5 separate regions of the Homo sapiens genome follow, and all the other regions are linked to region 2. Evidence: promoter capture Hi-C in 16 types of primary human blood cells and fetal thymus (Javierre and others, 2016). All regions are on one chromosome and are shown on one strand. Each heading gives the region's core, a stretch centred on a gene start or on the middle of the fragment in contact. The rest is flanking DNA. Distances are from core to core; before and after follow the strand shown. Region 1 holds the start of FAM210B (family with sequence similarity 210 member B). Region 2 holds the start of PFDN4 (prefoldin subunit 4). Region 3 has its middle 54 kb from the start of ZFP64. Region 4 overlaps RTF2 (replication termination factor 2). Region 5 has its middle 72 kb from the start of ZFP64.

Evidence for each region. Contacts are between HindIII fragments. The CHiCAGO score rates a contact against its expected background, and 5 or more counts as called.
Region 1: a contact is called between the fragment with the promoter of FAM210B here and the fragment with the promoter of PFDN4 in region 2, in 3 of 17 cell types (M0 macrophages, erythroblasts and M2 macrophages). The highest score is 10.0, in M0 macrophages.
Region 3: a contact is called between a fragment that was not itself captured here and the fragment with the promoter of PFDN4 in region 2, in 2 of 17 cell types (non-activated CD4 T cells and naive CD4 T cells). The highest score is 7.2, in non-activated CD4 T cells.
Region 4: a fragment that was not itself captured here is called in contact with the fragment with the promoter of PFDN4 in region 2 in 1 of 17 cell types (M2 macrophages); the score reaches 5.5 in M2 macrophages.
Region 5: a contact is called between a fragment that was not itself captured here and the fragment with the promoter of PFDN4 in region 2, in 2 of 17 cell types (naive CD4 T cells and total CD4 T cells). The highest score is 8.5, in naive CD4 T cells.

What each region holds. Positions count from the first base shown.
Region 1 is chr20:56,357,642-56,360,341 of GRCh38, reverse strand. FAM210B (family with sequence similarity 210 member B) reads right to left here and starts at 1,368. Exons shown (of 3, transcript NM_080821.3): 1 at 1,151-1,368. The coding sequence starts at 1,336. RefSeq lists a silencer at 1,092-1,691. The HindIII fragment of the contact is 7,749 bases long and covers 1-2,700 here.
Region 2 is chr20:54,206,826-54,209,525 of GRCh38, reverse strand. PFDN4 (prefoldin subunit 4) reads right to left here and starts at 1,439. Exons shown (of 4, transcript NM_002623.4): 1 at 1,402-1,439. The coding sequence starts at 1,425. It overlaps LOC124904937 (a long non-coding RNA gene), which reads left to right and starts at 1,485. Exons shown (of 2, transcript XR_007067669.1): 1 at 1,485-1,569; 2 at 2,470-2,580. RefSeq lists enhancers at 408-1,224, 1,365-1,684, 1,225-2,042 and a silencer at 1,105-1,374. The HindIII fragment of the contact is 8,273 bases long and covers 1-2,700 here.
Region 3 is chr20:52,136,000-52,138,699 of GRCh38, reverse strand. It overlaps a transcript of ZFP64 not described here. Among named protein-coding and RNA genes, the nearest start is that of ZFP64, 54 kb to the left of the region's middle. The HindIII fragment of the contact is 677 bases long and covers 926-1,602 here.
Region 4 is chr20:56,487,349-56,490,048 of GRCh38, reverse strand. All of the region lies in intron 5 of RTF2 (replication termination factor 2), which reads right to left. Among named protein-coding and RNA genes, the nearest start is that of RTF2, 20 kb to the right of the region's middle. The HindIII fragment of the contact is 2,876 bases long and covers 1-2,700 here.
Region 5 is chr20:52,118,607-52,121,306 of GRCh38, reverse strand. It overlaps a transcript of ZFP64 not described here. Among named protein-coding and RNA genes, the nearest start is that of ZFP64, 72 kb to the left of the region's middle. The HindIII fragment of the contact is 2,467 bases long and covers 54-2,520 here.

The sequences.
Region 1 (2,700 bases), core at 119-2,618, 2.2 Mb before region 2:
CCCAGTGGAGGCATCCGAGACCTCACAGGTCGTTAGAGAGGGCTTCCCGGAGGAAGGAACAGCTGGGCTGGGCCCTGAAGAATCATCAGGAGGCGGCACGGTGTGTGCAGAAGGTGCCACTCTGGAGAGGATCCCCAAGACCTGTGTGCCACCTGTCGGACTGGAGAAGGCAAGGAAGGAAGTTGATCTGGGCAGGAGGCATGATGAAAGCCTGGGTCCAATCCCCATCCGCTCCTTACTGAAAAGCTAGGAAACGGTCAGGAGATGTTCGCTGGGCCGGCGGCACTCCGCTGAGGCCTGCACCAGCTCATGGAGTTGTCTCCCAAACTCTTGCTGGGAAGGTGCTATTTTTGGCCCTCTAAAGGTCAGAAAACAAGCTCAAAAGCCTTCAGGACTCGGTCTGAGGTCACCGGGCGATGAATGGAGGGGCCCTGTCTGCACCCAGGCAAACAAAGAGGCTCCAGACTGCCAGGCCGGATGCGCTCCGGGCTGGACGCCGGCTCCGCGTGTCTGGGCTTGCCATTCCTGGACCGCCAGACTTCATTTACTACTATTTTTATTTAAAAAGACTCACTTGGAAGAAAGTGATAGATTTCTTGAAAGGAAAGCTGGTATGACTGCTCTGAAGGAAAACCAGTTTTCACTTAGCACCAATGGAAAGTGACGGAAATGAAACATAACAAACAGCACTGTGGGTTTCTTGCCCGCGGCTTCCCTGAGGACGCCTGCTCTTCCACTCAGAAGAAAAGGGAGGAGCAGCGAGCGTCGGGAGGTGTTCAAAACACAGCGAGACCCAGCCAGAAGGCCTGGACAACAACTCCGCAGGCAACGTGTGGAAGTTCAGACCAAGTCAGTCGGCTGCGCCCCAGCCTGGCTGAGGCTCTGCAGACCCGGGGCTCGGCCGAAGACTGCGCGACCTTGGGCAGAGCGCCACACCTTCCCGAGCCTCAGTTTCTCTGGCTGTCAACTAGGAGGATCGCTTCCTTGGCTTGCAGGGATTTGGGGTTTCGGGGACCCTGGAAGAGCTCGGTCCCGGGCAGCTACAAGTGCAAAGGCGTCCTTGGCGGAGGCGGCCGGACCCCGGCGCGGCCCTGCGGACGTCTGGGGACCTGGACACCGCCCGGGATCAGGGTCGGGGTGGGGTGCTTACCTGGTGGCCGCGGCAGTCCCCGCGCGCCGTGCGGAGCAGCCGGGCGTCTAGCCTGGGCGGGAGCAGGGCCAGGGCCAGGGGCGGCGGGGCGCAGGGGGCGGTGGCGCCCAGGAGCCAGGTGGCGCGAGGCCGGACCCGGGCGCCCACCCTGCCTGCCGGACCCAGCAACGCCAGCAACCCGGCCATGGTGCGCAGCTAGGCGCAGCACCCGCGCCGCTGACCCGGGAGGCGGGCGGAGGCCGGGGAGGGTGGGCGGAGCTGACCCGGCGAGGGCCCTCCCCGGCCCCGCCCGCCGGCTTCGCCGCCGCGCGCGCGCGCTGGGCGGGACTGAGGAGGCCTGTGCACATCCCCTTGGCTCACCCGCTAGCTCCGCTCCTCGGGAGCCGGAGTCCAGGGCTGGTGGGCGGGGCTGAAGGAGCGCGCCCCGCCTCCTCTCCGCCCACCAGCCCCGCCCCTTTGGGGGTGGGTGCAGGTCTTTTCAGGGTCTTGGGCTTTCTAACTGTGGTGTGTAGTTGGCGGGTTTCCTTATTCTGCGGGCACAAAGGTGGGCGTAGGGCCGTGGCTTATGAGCTTTTCTCCCTGCAGAAATGGGTGAAATCTGAAAAAAAATTATAGATATGTTTACGTGTTAGCTCCAAAGAAGAAAATAAATATGAGAATTGATATTAGTACATGTTTAATAAAAAGTCCTCTGACCCTCATAGATTGTTGGCGTGAATGTAAAGCGAAAGATGGTGTGGCAGTTTCTTGAAAAGTTAGACATACACTAACCATACAACCCAGCAACTCCACTCCTCGGTAGCTTCTCAAGAGAAACAAAGGCTCGACACTCAAAGACTAAAATGTGAAGACACCAATGTTTGTAGAGATCTTATAAATATTAGTCAACAATTAGGAATGCCCATAAACTGGGACGTACTGTGGCACAAGTCTTCAATGGGACGCAATGCAACAATTAAAGGGAACAGACTACTGATACATGCACAACATAAATGAATCTCAAAGCTCTTATGCCAATTGAAAAAATCTAGGCACAAAAGTCACACACTGGAGGATTCCAGCTACATGAAGTGCCCAGAATAGGCAAAATCACAGAGACCTAAAACAGATCCGTGGTGGCCTAGGGCTGGGAGTGGGAAATGAGATTGACTGCCAAGGAGTGGGAGGAACGTCTTGGGGTGAGGGAAGGATCCTAAACCCAGATTGTAGGGATGGTGACAGCTGTGTAACTAAAACTCGTGGGACTGTACACTTAACATGGATGAATTTTATGCTGTGTAAATTATACTTCAATAAAGATGTTCTGGCTGGGTGGAATGGCTCATGCCTATAATCCAAGCACGTTGGGAGGCTGAGGTGGGAGGATTACTTGAGCTCAGGAGTTCAAGACCAGCCTGAGCAACATAGCGAAACCCTGTCACTACAAAAATAAAAATAAATTAGCCTGGTGTGGTGGCATGCACCTGTAGTCCCAACTACTCGGGAGGCTGACGCAGAATTGCTTGAGCTCAGGAGGTCCAGGTTTCAGGGAGCCACGATGGTGCTACTGC
Region 2 (2,700 bases), core at 190-2,689:
CCCTAGACCCTACTCTGGGACACAGTAAGAATTTTTGGATGGCAGAATAGTAGGGTGAGCAACACATCCTGAGTTGGCTGGGGCTTTCCCATTTTTGGCAGTCCCTCAATTTCATATAAAAGGGGGCAATGGGTCACCCTACACCAGGCACAGATGGCATAGACTATGTGGTACTGGATAGGGGCAAAGCAAAGAAGTTCTAATGTGGTCTTAAAAGTGGAATGAACGCAAATCCCTCCAGCCAAGAGATTCTCATCAAAGACCCCCTATAGCAGTTTAAAACACAGACTCCGGAGTCAGAATGCCTGTGTTTAAATGCTAGCTTTGCCTCCGCGCCTGTTTTCTCATTGTTAAATAAGGATAAAAACAGTATCTCCCTCAAAGAACATAAAATAAACAATACACGCAAAACAACTTACAGCTGTACCTAGCACACTGTAAAGCTCCCCAAATTATCAGCCGTTATCTCCTTCCCCCTCTCCAATTTTCTTTTTCTTCTATCTGACTATCTTTACACATCTGGGAAGGCTCACGGGATTAAAAACCCCACATGGAAGTTTAGCCGGCTTAGTGGTTACACAGGCGTGCTTTGAGAAAAACAAAAACAAACCTGAGTTTGAACTCCAGCTCTGCTTCTTACTAGCTGAGTCACTTTAGGGCCTCTAACTGCTCTGTGTCTAAGTTTCTCTACCTGCAAAGTGGAGAGGAACCCATTGCACTTGCTGAGTTGCGGGGAGGATAACAGATAAACGGCCGGCTGCTGGGCCCGGCACATCTTCCATTCTCAATAAATACTGGTTTTAGCCTGAAGGACTCAGGGGCATCAAGCGTGGAAATGGGCAGCTCCAGGTTGGACACAGGGTCTCTGGGGCCTGCTAATCTGGGGATGCAGGAACCTGCTGTCCCCGTTATGAGCTGCGTAACCTCGGGCAGGTGACTCCCCATCTCTGGGCCTCAGTTTCCTCACCCGTAACCACGCTCCCAGCAGCAGCTACCCATAACCAGTGAGGCTAATGCGATCATGCCGGTGCAACGCCCGAGTCAAGGCCAACCACACTCAACGGGACCTTCGGCTTCCCACACCTCAGGGGCGAGGCCGGGGCTGCAGGTTCCTCAGACTCCCCGGGGGCACCCTCGGCATCGCGGGAGGCGGACCTGCGTCCTTCGAGGCTCCCGGCCCCAGCCCCGGCGCCCCGCCTCGGCTGGCCAGGTGCCTAGGAAAACGCTCAGGGCGCCAGGCGCGAGCAGGCCTTGCCGCGGGACCGCTCTCAGGGCCTCGGCCTCGGCCTCGGGTCCCACGCCGGGCTTCGGAGCTGCGCACCCCCAGCATCCCGCGCCCGGGCCCCAGCGGCCGAGATCCGGCGCCGCCCGAGCATCCAGAGCCCCGAGCTCCCCACTCACCGCCTTCTTCATGGTGGCCGCCATCTTGGGACTGGACTACCGCAGGCGGCGGGGAGGGCCGCAATGGCGCGCTTCGCCCCCGAGCGTTCTCTCGCTCCCGGTCGGCCTAGAACTCCCCGCAAAAATACAACACTGTCTCCACATTCCGTCCTCTTGGACTTTTGGCCAGTGAGTCCAAACGGCTGGGACGTAGGGAGGAAATGTGACCTGGAAGGACTTGGTACATGCCAATTAAAGGGACAGGCAACCCCCGTGGACCGACATAAACACGGGGGTGTGGCGAACGGCTCCGGCCGCGGGCAGCAGGGGGCGCGCCCAAGGCTCAGCGCGGCGGGGCCCAGCTGGGGCAGGATCAAAGGGCTCGGGGAATTTTTCTCCATCCGTCCCACAGACTTGCATTGAGAAAGCTAACCTACCTGTAAAACAGCTAGGAACGAATGGCCTTGGCAAATAGGGTGTGAGATTTATGTGCCATGATAATTCAGGTGGTGTAAAGGAGGTACTCCTATCTTTTAATGTAATTTTTTTTTAATTTAAATTCGGGGGGTATGTGTGCCGGTTTATTACATGGATATACTGCATGGTGCTAAGGTTTGGGTTTCTAATGATCCCGTTGCCCAAGTAGTGAACATAGTACCCCACAGGTAATTTTTCAACCCCTTTCCCCTGCCTCCTTCCCCGTTTTTGGAATCCGTAGCATTTATTGTTCCCACCTTTATGTCCACGAGTACCCAGTGTTTAGCTGTCACTCATAAGTGGGAACATGAGTGGTTGGTTTTCTGTTTCTGTGTTAATTCACTTAGGATAATGATGTCCAGCTGCATCCATGTTGCTGCAAAGGACATGATTTTGTTCTTTTTTATGGCTGCATAGTATTCCATGGTGTATATGGACCACATTTTCTTTATCCTATCCACCACTGATGGGCATCTGGGTTGATTCCATGCCTTTGCTGTTGTGACTAGGCAATCCTATTAATTAATTTACAGCAATATTACTGAACAATTACTGTATATTCTGACACTTGTGTCTCCCAATTAGTAATTTTTTTTTTTTTTTTTGCCTTAGGACCTCTTTATACTCCTGGAAATTACTGAGGACTCCAAAGAACTTTTGTTTATGTGGGTTATTTATCGATATTTGCTGTATTAGAAATTAAAGCAGAATTTTTAAAATGTATTTATTAATTCATTTAAAATAATATAAAACTCCATTCCATGGTAATAAAAATCACACTTTAAAAATAACTATATTTTCTAAGACAAAAATAAATTGAGAAGATTGTCATCATTTTACATT
Region 3 (2,700 bases), core at 15-2,514, 2.1 Mb after region 2:
TTTTAAAACTAAGCTTTCCTTATATTACCAGGGTGCTTTTTTTTTTATTATATTTTGCCATATGTTGTTTGATGCATATAAAGTTTGTAGCTGTTCTACGTTCTTTGTCATTTTTTCCTTTTTTTCTCATGTACCTGTTCCTTCTATGTAATAATAGCTTTTGGCCTTAAATCATGCTTTATCTCATAATAACATTCTAAGTCTTATTTTGTATTTTTTTTTCATTTGCCTGGTTCATATCTGCCCATTCTGTTATTCAGTATCTTTCTTTATCAGCCTCTCCTTGTCTTTGATAGGACAATTCAAATCATTTGTATTTATTACAGTAATATATATGTGCTATTATTCACTTCCATCTTATTTAATATTTGCTATTTATTAAAGTTTGTGGTTTTCTCCTTTTTCCTTTTTAACTTTATTTCCTATCTCTAGAAAGTTATATATTCATCTCCATCCTGCTGACAGTTACATTCCAATTTTTTGTGTGTTGTTTTTTTGAGATAGGGTCTCTGTCTCCCAGGCTAAAGTGCAGTGGAGTGATCTTGGCTCACTGCAGCCTTTACCTCCCCAGCCCAAGTGATCCTCCCACCTCAGCCTCCCAAGTAGTTGGGACTCCAGATGTGTGCCTCCATGCCTGGCTTGCTTATTTATTTATTTATTTATTTATTTATTTATTTATTTATTTTTGTAAAGATGGGGTTTTTCCGTGTTTCCCAGGCTGGTCTCGAACTCCTGGGCTCAAGCAATCTGCTCGCTTTTGCCTCCCAGAGTGCTGGGATTAGAGGCATGAGCCAGTGCACCGGGCCTGCTTTCCAATATTTAACAATGATTGTTAAATATATATTTGCCTACTGCTGTGTAAAAAGTAAACATTAACCGTGCCTCAATCTTCCATTAAGAAATTCTTCCCTGATGAGAGGAAGCTTTTGGACTTCATCTTCTACAGCCGCCATCCTCAAATTCTGAGTTTTGCTGAGATGACTTATAAGTTTATTTCTAGGCCTTTGTTAAGTTTTGCCCTATGGTATGTCTCTTACATTCAAATTCCCAATTGACCATCTCCATTTAGATTTAACCAAAAATTACTGCATTCATTGTTCACCATAGTTTCTTACACCCTTCAGCTTCCCTATGTTGCGCTTTTACTCTGATTTCATTTTCATTTGGTTGGAGTACTTCCTGGAGCATATTCCTCAGAAGGGCACATAGGTGGGACTTCTTTTGTCCTGGCAGATGAATTATACCCTTGGACATAAGATCTTTTTTTCTTCAGTAGTCGTTAAACTCTGTTCTGGTGGAGATGAAAAGTTGGATCCCAATCTGATCCACTTCTTAGATGCCCTAGGTCCTGTAGCCCAGCAAAGTTGAGACAAAATGATGGTGTTACCAGGAAAAAAAGCAAGGCAGTGGCTCATTCTAGCCAGTCAGGTGGAGAGAACCCATCTCTGAAACTTCTCAGATAGAGAGCAGGGCTTCAAAATAGGAAATATTATTAATCTTAAAAATTATTATTTATTTCATCATACTTCTCAGCAACAAAATTATGGCTATATAAATTGAAATTCACATCTTTTATTTTCTATGATCACAGGGCTCCAAGCTTTAGACATTTCTTCAATATCAAATTACCATTAGGGCCAGGCACGGTGGCTCACACCTGTAATCCCAGCATTTTGGGAGGCCAAGGTGGGTGGATCACCTGAGGTCAGGAGTTTGAGACCAGCCTGGCCAACATGGCAAAACCCCATCTCTGCTAAAAATACAAAAATTAGCTGGGTGTGGTGGTGGATGCCTGTAGTCCCGGCTATTCAGGAGGCTGAGGCAGGAGAATCACTTGCCCGGGAGGCAGAGGTTGCAGTGAGCCGAGATCACGCCACTATACTCCAGCCTGGGAGACAGAGTGAGACTCCATCTCAAAAAAACAAGATAATTAGGAACTTTTGACCAAAGCAACATATATATATTATATAATTTGAAAAACAGTTATTAAATATAAGCAAGGTACTGGTGTTTTTCTATTTTAATGAGGTAGATAGGCCTGGTTTTTAGTTAGCTTATATATTCTTTATGATTATGAATTTTTAAAAAACCATTTTTCAGCAGTTGCTAGAATGAGATACAGTTTATTTTCAGTTATGTGTCAAATTCTTTTTTATTGATGTAAACTCTGAGTTTTATTCACATAAATAAGAATATAGAAATACAAGTTGTATTGTTATAGCAATATTTCTCAATTATTTTAATTTTTTCTGAATTCTATGCCAGAAAATCACATATTGATCAGTTGTCATTAATTGGGTCAATTTTATTAAAAACAAAGAACTGAAAACAACCTGGGGTTTCTTTCCCAATTATGGAATCACTTGCCTTCTCAACATTGATGCTGTGATATCTCAGATTTTATGGCTCCATGCATTGGTTCAGTATGGTTTATTAATAATGGGTCACTTTCTCTGCGCGTTCTTAGGTGATCAGTTTTAGGAAAAGGTATGCCTAGAAGTTAAGGATCTGAGAATTGATGTCCTTAATCATGCCTGTTTGTTGTTGTTGTTGTTGTTGTTCTTTTTTTTGGTTTTTTCTTTTTTTTTTTTTTTTTTTTTTTTGAGAGAGTCTCCCTCCATCGCCTAGGCTGGAGTGCAGTGGTGTGATTTCGGCTCACTGCAACCTCCACCTCCCTGATTCAAGCAATTCTCCTGCCTC
Region 4 (2,700 bases), core at 42-2,541, 2.3 Mb before region 2:
AATCTTTCTTCCCCTTGGATATCTAATCCAAGGAAAGCACATATGGAAAATATTAAGACTTTCAAAAAGAACACAAGAGCCCCATGACAGCCCACCACCACCTTCCCACACATTTCTACAGGCAAACACGGCGCCCCCAAAGGCGATAGCTGGCTACATGCTGACAGGCTGTTCATTCAGAAAGCTCAGATTAGCCACGATTATGTCCCCGGTATTTTATAACTCAATAGCAACTGAATGTAAACCCCATTAAAGGAACAATAAAAAAGATTACATCTTTCAAGTTACTTAAAACATAAGCCTGCCTTCACTTCATTCCAATGTCAACCCGTGGTACACCCAGTCACATACCGTGAAGGGGGCCCTGTAAAAGCATCCGCCCACCAGCACCGTTAGGAGGACATGGGTGCTCCTGGGTGGGGAAGTGCTCAGAAGAATGGCTGACACTTTTAACGGATGAGAAAATCGAGGCACAGGGAGATGATGGGATGTTCCTGGGACCACACAGCTGGGAAAGTGGGGCTGGGATTTGGACCAGGCAGCTACACTCTGCAGTGTGACTACTGAGTCCCAGGTAGCTACATGACCTTACGTCACACAAAGAAGCACAAATTGAAACAAACACCTGCCCCCAACAGGCTTAATGCTATAATGAAGACATGTCCTGAACAAATCATTTCAGTATGGCCAGGCGTGGTGGCTCATGCCTGTAATCCCAGCACTTTGGAAGGCTGAGGCGGGTGGATCACGAGGTCAGGAGTTTCAGACCAGCCTGGCCAATATGGTGAAACCCTGCCTCTACTAAAAATACAAAAAAAAAAAAAAAATAACCAGGCATGGTGGTGGGCGCCTGTAGTCCCAGCTACTCGGGTGGCTAAGGCAGGAGAATCACTTGAACCTGGGAGGCAGAGGTTATAGTGAGCCAAGATTGCACCACTGCACCCCAGCCTGGGCAACAGAGCAAGACTCCATCTAAAAAAAAAAATCATTTCAGTAACAGCAGGATAAAGCAGAATAATAAAAGTACACTAAATGCATGTGGAATGTAAAAGCCTGAGACTGGGCTTCAGTGGAGAGTGGGGACAGCAATGGAAAACAAGGCCAAGAGTCAGAGAGGTGGGGAGGCCGAGAGGCAGGGAGGCTTGAGAGGCAGGGAGGCCGAGAGGCAGGGAGGCTGAGACAGGCAGCTGCGACAGGCCAGGGAGGCCAAGGGAAAGCAGCAGCTTCCGTGAGCATGAGAACAAGAAGCCTAGGCTCACTCTCTCCTTATCAGACCCTCAGTCTGTTGATGGGTAGAGTGAAAGAACAAAATGAACATGTGAAAGTTTAAGGCTGCCTATGCTGTGTCTTATCTGATTCCTTGAGGCTAAATATTCACAAAGACTATAAAGATGGCAGAAACCTAAGATACTCTGAAGAAGGCCAAAGCCTGAAAACCAGAATCAGCTGCACTGACCACTTCTGACGACACTCCTTTTCCCTAACTTAACTTTTTCTCTTTCTACTCCACCCCCTCCATGAAAAGCAGGTAGACAGTGTGAGTATATATATTTTTGACTTCTAACTTTAAAACATCCACACACCCCATTCACCTATCTACAAAGCCTACATAAATGAAGCCACAGAGGTAGCAAGTCCAATGCTACGGATCACAACTCCAGTACTCTACATTGGCACTTTTTTTTTTTGAGACAGAGTCTAGCTCTGTCGCCCAGGCTGGAGTGCAGTGGCGTGATCTTGGCTCACTGCAACTTCCACCTCCCAGGTTCAAGCAATTCTCCTGCCTCAGTCTCCTAAGTAGTTCGGACTACAGGCATGCACCACCAAGCCCAGCTAATTTTTGTATTTTTAGTAGAGACGGGGTTTCATTATGTTGGCCAGGCTGTTCTCGAACTCCTGACCTCAAGTGATCCAACCACCTCAGCCTCCCAAAGTGTTGAGATTACAGGCGTGAGCCACCATGTCTGGCCCCACGCTCTATGATTTTATTTTCTAAATTGTGTATTATGGGTTGAATTATGCCCCCCTGCAAAATCCATATGTTGAAGTCCAAGCCCTAGTACCTCAAAATGTGACCTTATTGGGAAACACAGTCAATGCAGATGTAATTAGTTAAGATGAGGCCATTAAGTTGGGCCCTAATCCAGTACCGGGACTGGTGTCCTAATAAGGGAAAATGTGGACACAAAGACAGACATGATAGAGGGAAGATGATGTGAACAGGGCGAAGGCCGTCTAGAAGCCAATGAGAGGCCTGGACCAGATCCTTCCCTCAGAAGAAACTAACCCTGATGACACCTTGATTTTGGACGTTAGTCTCCAGAACTATAAGACAATGACTTTCCGGTAAGTCATCCGGCTTGGGTACTTAATTACAGCAGCCCCAACAAACTAGCACAGAGTATTCAACACAGTTCTGCAAAGGCAACTCTGATGTACAGTATAAAAGTAAAAATAATTCATTATCTCGTTCATTCTTTGTTGGCAACAGATGTATCTTTAAGACAATTTCCTGAGGTATTCCTGAATTTCAACCAGTGCCCTGTCATAACTGCAGAAAGTCGCAACAGCCAAGGTGGCCTCCACGAGGAGCCGGGAGGAGCCTACGCTCGCTCCTGTTCGTCACCTGGTCTCTACTGTCCCTTGTGCAATCCTGACGTGGCTCTGTTCCTCTTTCCTCCTGCTTCCTTCCCTTCTCTT
Region 5 (2,700 bases), core at 38-2,537, 2.1 Mb after region 2:
AAGGCCCAGCTTTCAGCCTGCCTTGGCTTTTGACATGCCTTTCTCACTAAGCTTAATCATTGCCAGCTTGTGATTTAAAGTGAGAGATGCACCACCCTCCCTTTCACATGAACACTTATAGGTCACTGTGGGGTTATTAATTGGCCTAATTTCAATGTTGTGTCTCAGGGAATAGAAAGGCTCGAAGAAAAGGAGAGAGAAGGGACTGGCTGGTCAGTGGAGCAGTCAGAACACACACAACACTTGTCAATTAAGTTCCCGTCTTACATGGGCACAGTTCATGGCACCCTAAAACAGTTACGAGGGTAGCATCAAATATCACTGATCATGGACTGGGTGAGGTGGCTCATGCCTGCAATCCCAGCACTTTAGGAGGCCAAGGCGGGCAGATCACCTGACGTCAGGAGTTTGAGACCAGCCTGGCCAACATGGCGAAACCCCATCTGTACTAAAAATACAAGAATTATCTGGGCATGGTGGCACATGCCTGTAATCCCAGCTACTAGGGAGGCTGAGGCTGGAGAATCTCTTGAACCTGGAAGATGGAGGTTGCAGTGAGCCGAGATCACGCCACTGCACTCCAGCCTGGGTGACAGAGCAAGACTCCGTCTCAAAAAAAAAAAAAAAAAAAAAAAAAAAGATCACTGATCACATTAACAGATATAATAAATGATAAAGTTTGAAATATTACAAGAATTATCTCAGCATGACACAGAAACACAAAGTGAGCACATGCCATTGGAAAAATGAAGCCGATACACTTGCTGGATGCAGGGTTGACACAAACCTTCAACTTGTAAAAAAAGAAAAAAACACACAGTGTCTGTGACGTGCGATAAAGTGGCGTATACGCACATGGTGAGCCATCTATCGATGCCCTCTTTCCATCCTCATAGTCATTACCACGACGAGGATCATCATTCTCCTTCATTGGCTCTCAGGCACCTTCCCAAACCAGGCCTGAGATTTGCCTCTGGATGTGTCTGAGGTTTAACAGGGGAAAGAGGGTGTCCCAGACACCCTCTAACTGCTATAACAAAGTGCCGTAGACTGGGTAGCTTACACACAACAAAAATTTATTTCTTGCAGTTCTAGAGGCTGGAAAGTCCAAGATCAAGGCACTGGCAGATTCGGTGTCTGGCAAGGACCCCACTTTCTCATAAATGGCACCTTCTAGCTGTGTCCACACATGGTGGAAGGGGAAGGCAGCTCTCTGATGCCTCTTTTATAAGGGCACTAATTCCTTCCAGGAGAGTTCCAGCTCCATGATCCAAACACCTGCCCAAAGCCGTGTTCTTAATACCATCATGTGGGGGTTAGGATTTCAACATATGAATTGTGGGGAGGCACAAACATTCACAGGGGAAAGGAAAAATAGGAAATTATTTAATCATATTCTTTTTGCCATATGAAACCCTTCACACCTCCTCCCCACCCAACTCCTTCACCTTATCTCCTGTACTCCCTGCACCTCTAGTCAGACTAAGGTTTCTCAAAAGTGCCGTCTCTTTGCCTCCTGGTCTTTGTAGTGAGTGGGGAGGGGTTGTTTTTTGTTTGGTTGTTTTTTTGTTTGTTTTGAGACAGAGTCTTTCTCTGTCACTGCAACCTCCGCCTCCCAGGTTCAAGCAAGTCTCCTGCTTCAGCCTCCAGAGTAGCTGGGACTACAGGTGCACGCCACCATGCCTGACTAATTTTTTTGTGTTTATATGTGTGTGTGTGTGTGTGTGTGTTGTGTGTGTATATATATATATGTATATATATATATATATATATTTTTTTTTTTTTTAGATGAAGTCTCACTCTGTTTCCCAGGCTAGAGTGAAGTGACAGTCTTGGCTGACTGCAACCTCCGCCTCCTGGGTTCAAGCGATTCTCCTGCCTCAGCCTCCTGAGTAGTTGAGTAGCTGGGATTACAGCTGTGCACCACCACGCCCGGCTAATTTTTGTATTTTTAGTAGAGTCGGGGTTTCGACATGTTGGCCTGCTGATCTTGAACTCCTGACCTCAGGTGATCCACCCACCTCAGCCTCCCAAAGTGCTGGGATTACAGGCGTGAACCACCGAACCCAGCTTCCCTCCTGGTCTTTGTACAAGCTGTCCCCCTACCTGAAACCCACTTCAACTCACTTCTTTTTTGCTTTTATTTATTTTACTTTATTTTTGAGACAGGGTCTTGCTCTGTCACCCAGGCTGGAATGCAATGGCATGATCATAGTTCATTGCAGCCTCCAGCTCCCAGGCTCAAGCAATCCTCCTGCCCTCGACCTTTTTTGATAGCTGCCACCACAGGCACACACCACCACACCCAGCTAATTACTGTATTTTTTGTAGAGACGGGGTTTCACTATGTTGCCCCAGCCAGCCTCTAACTCCTGGCCGGAAGCAGTCCATTCACTTTGGCCTCCCAATGTGTTGGCATTACAGGCGCGAGCCACTGCACCCAACCTACTTCACTTCTTTACCTGCCCAAGATCTCATCCTACATAGCCAGGGCTACAAATCCACCTCTCTGAGGAAGCTTTACCTGCCCACTCTGTGAGAACCTTTATCACATATTTATCACACTGTACTATAGCTGTTTACTTATTTATCCTCCTGATTGCTCTGCAACTTCTTTAAAGACTTGCTTTCATATTCCCAAAGGTTAGCAAAGCCTTGCCCCCAGTGGCAACCCAATTAATGTTTGTTAAACAAATGAAT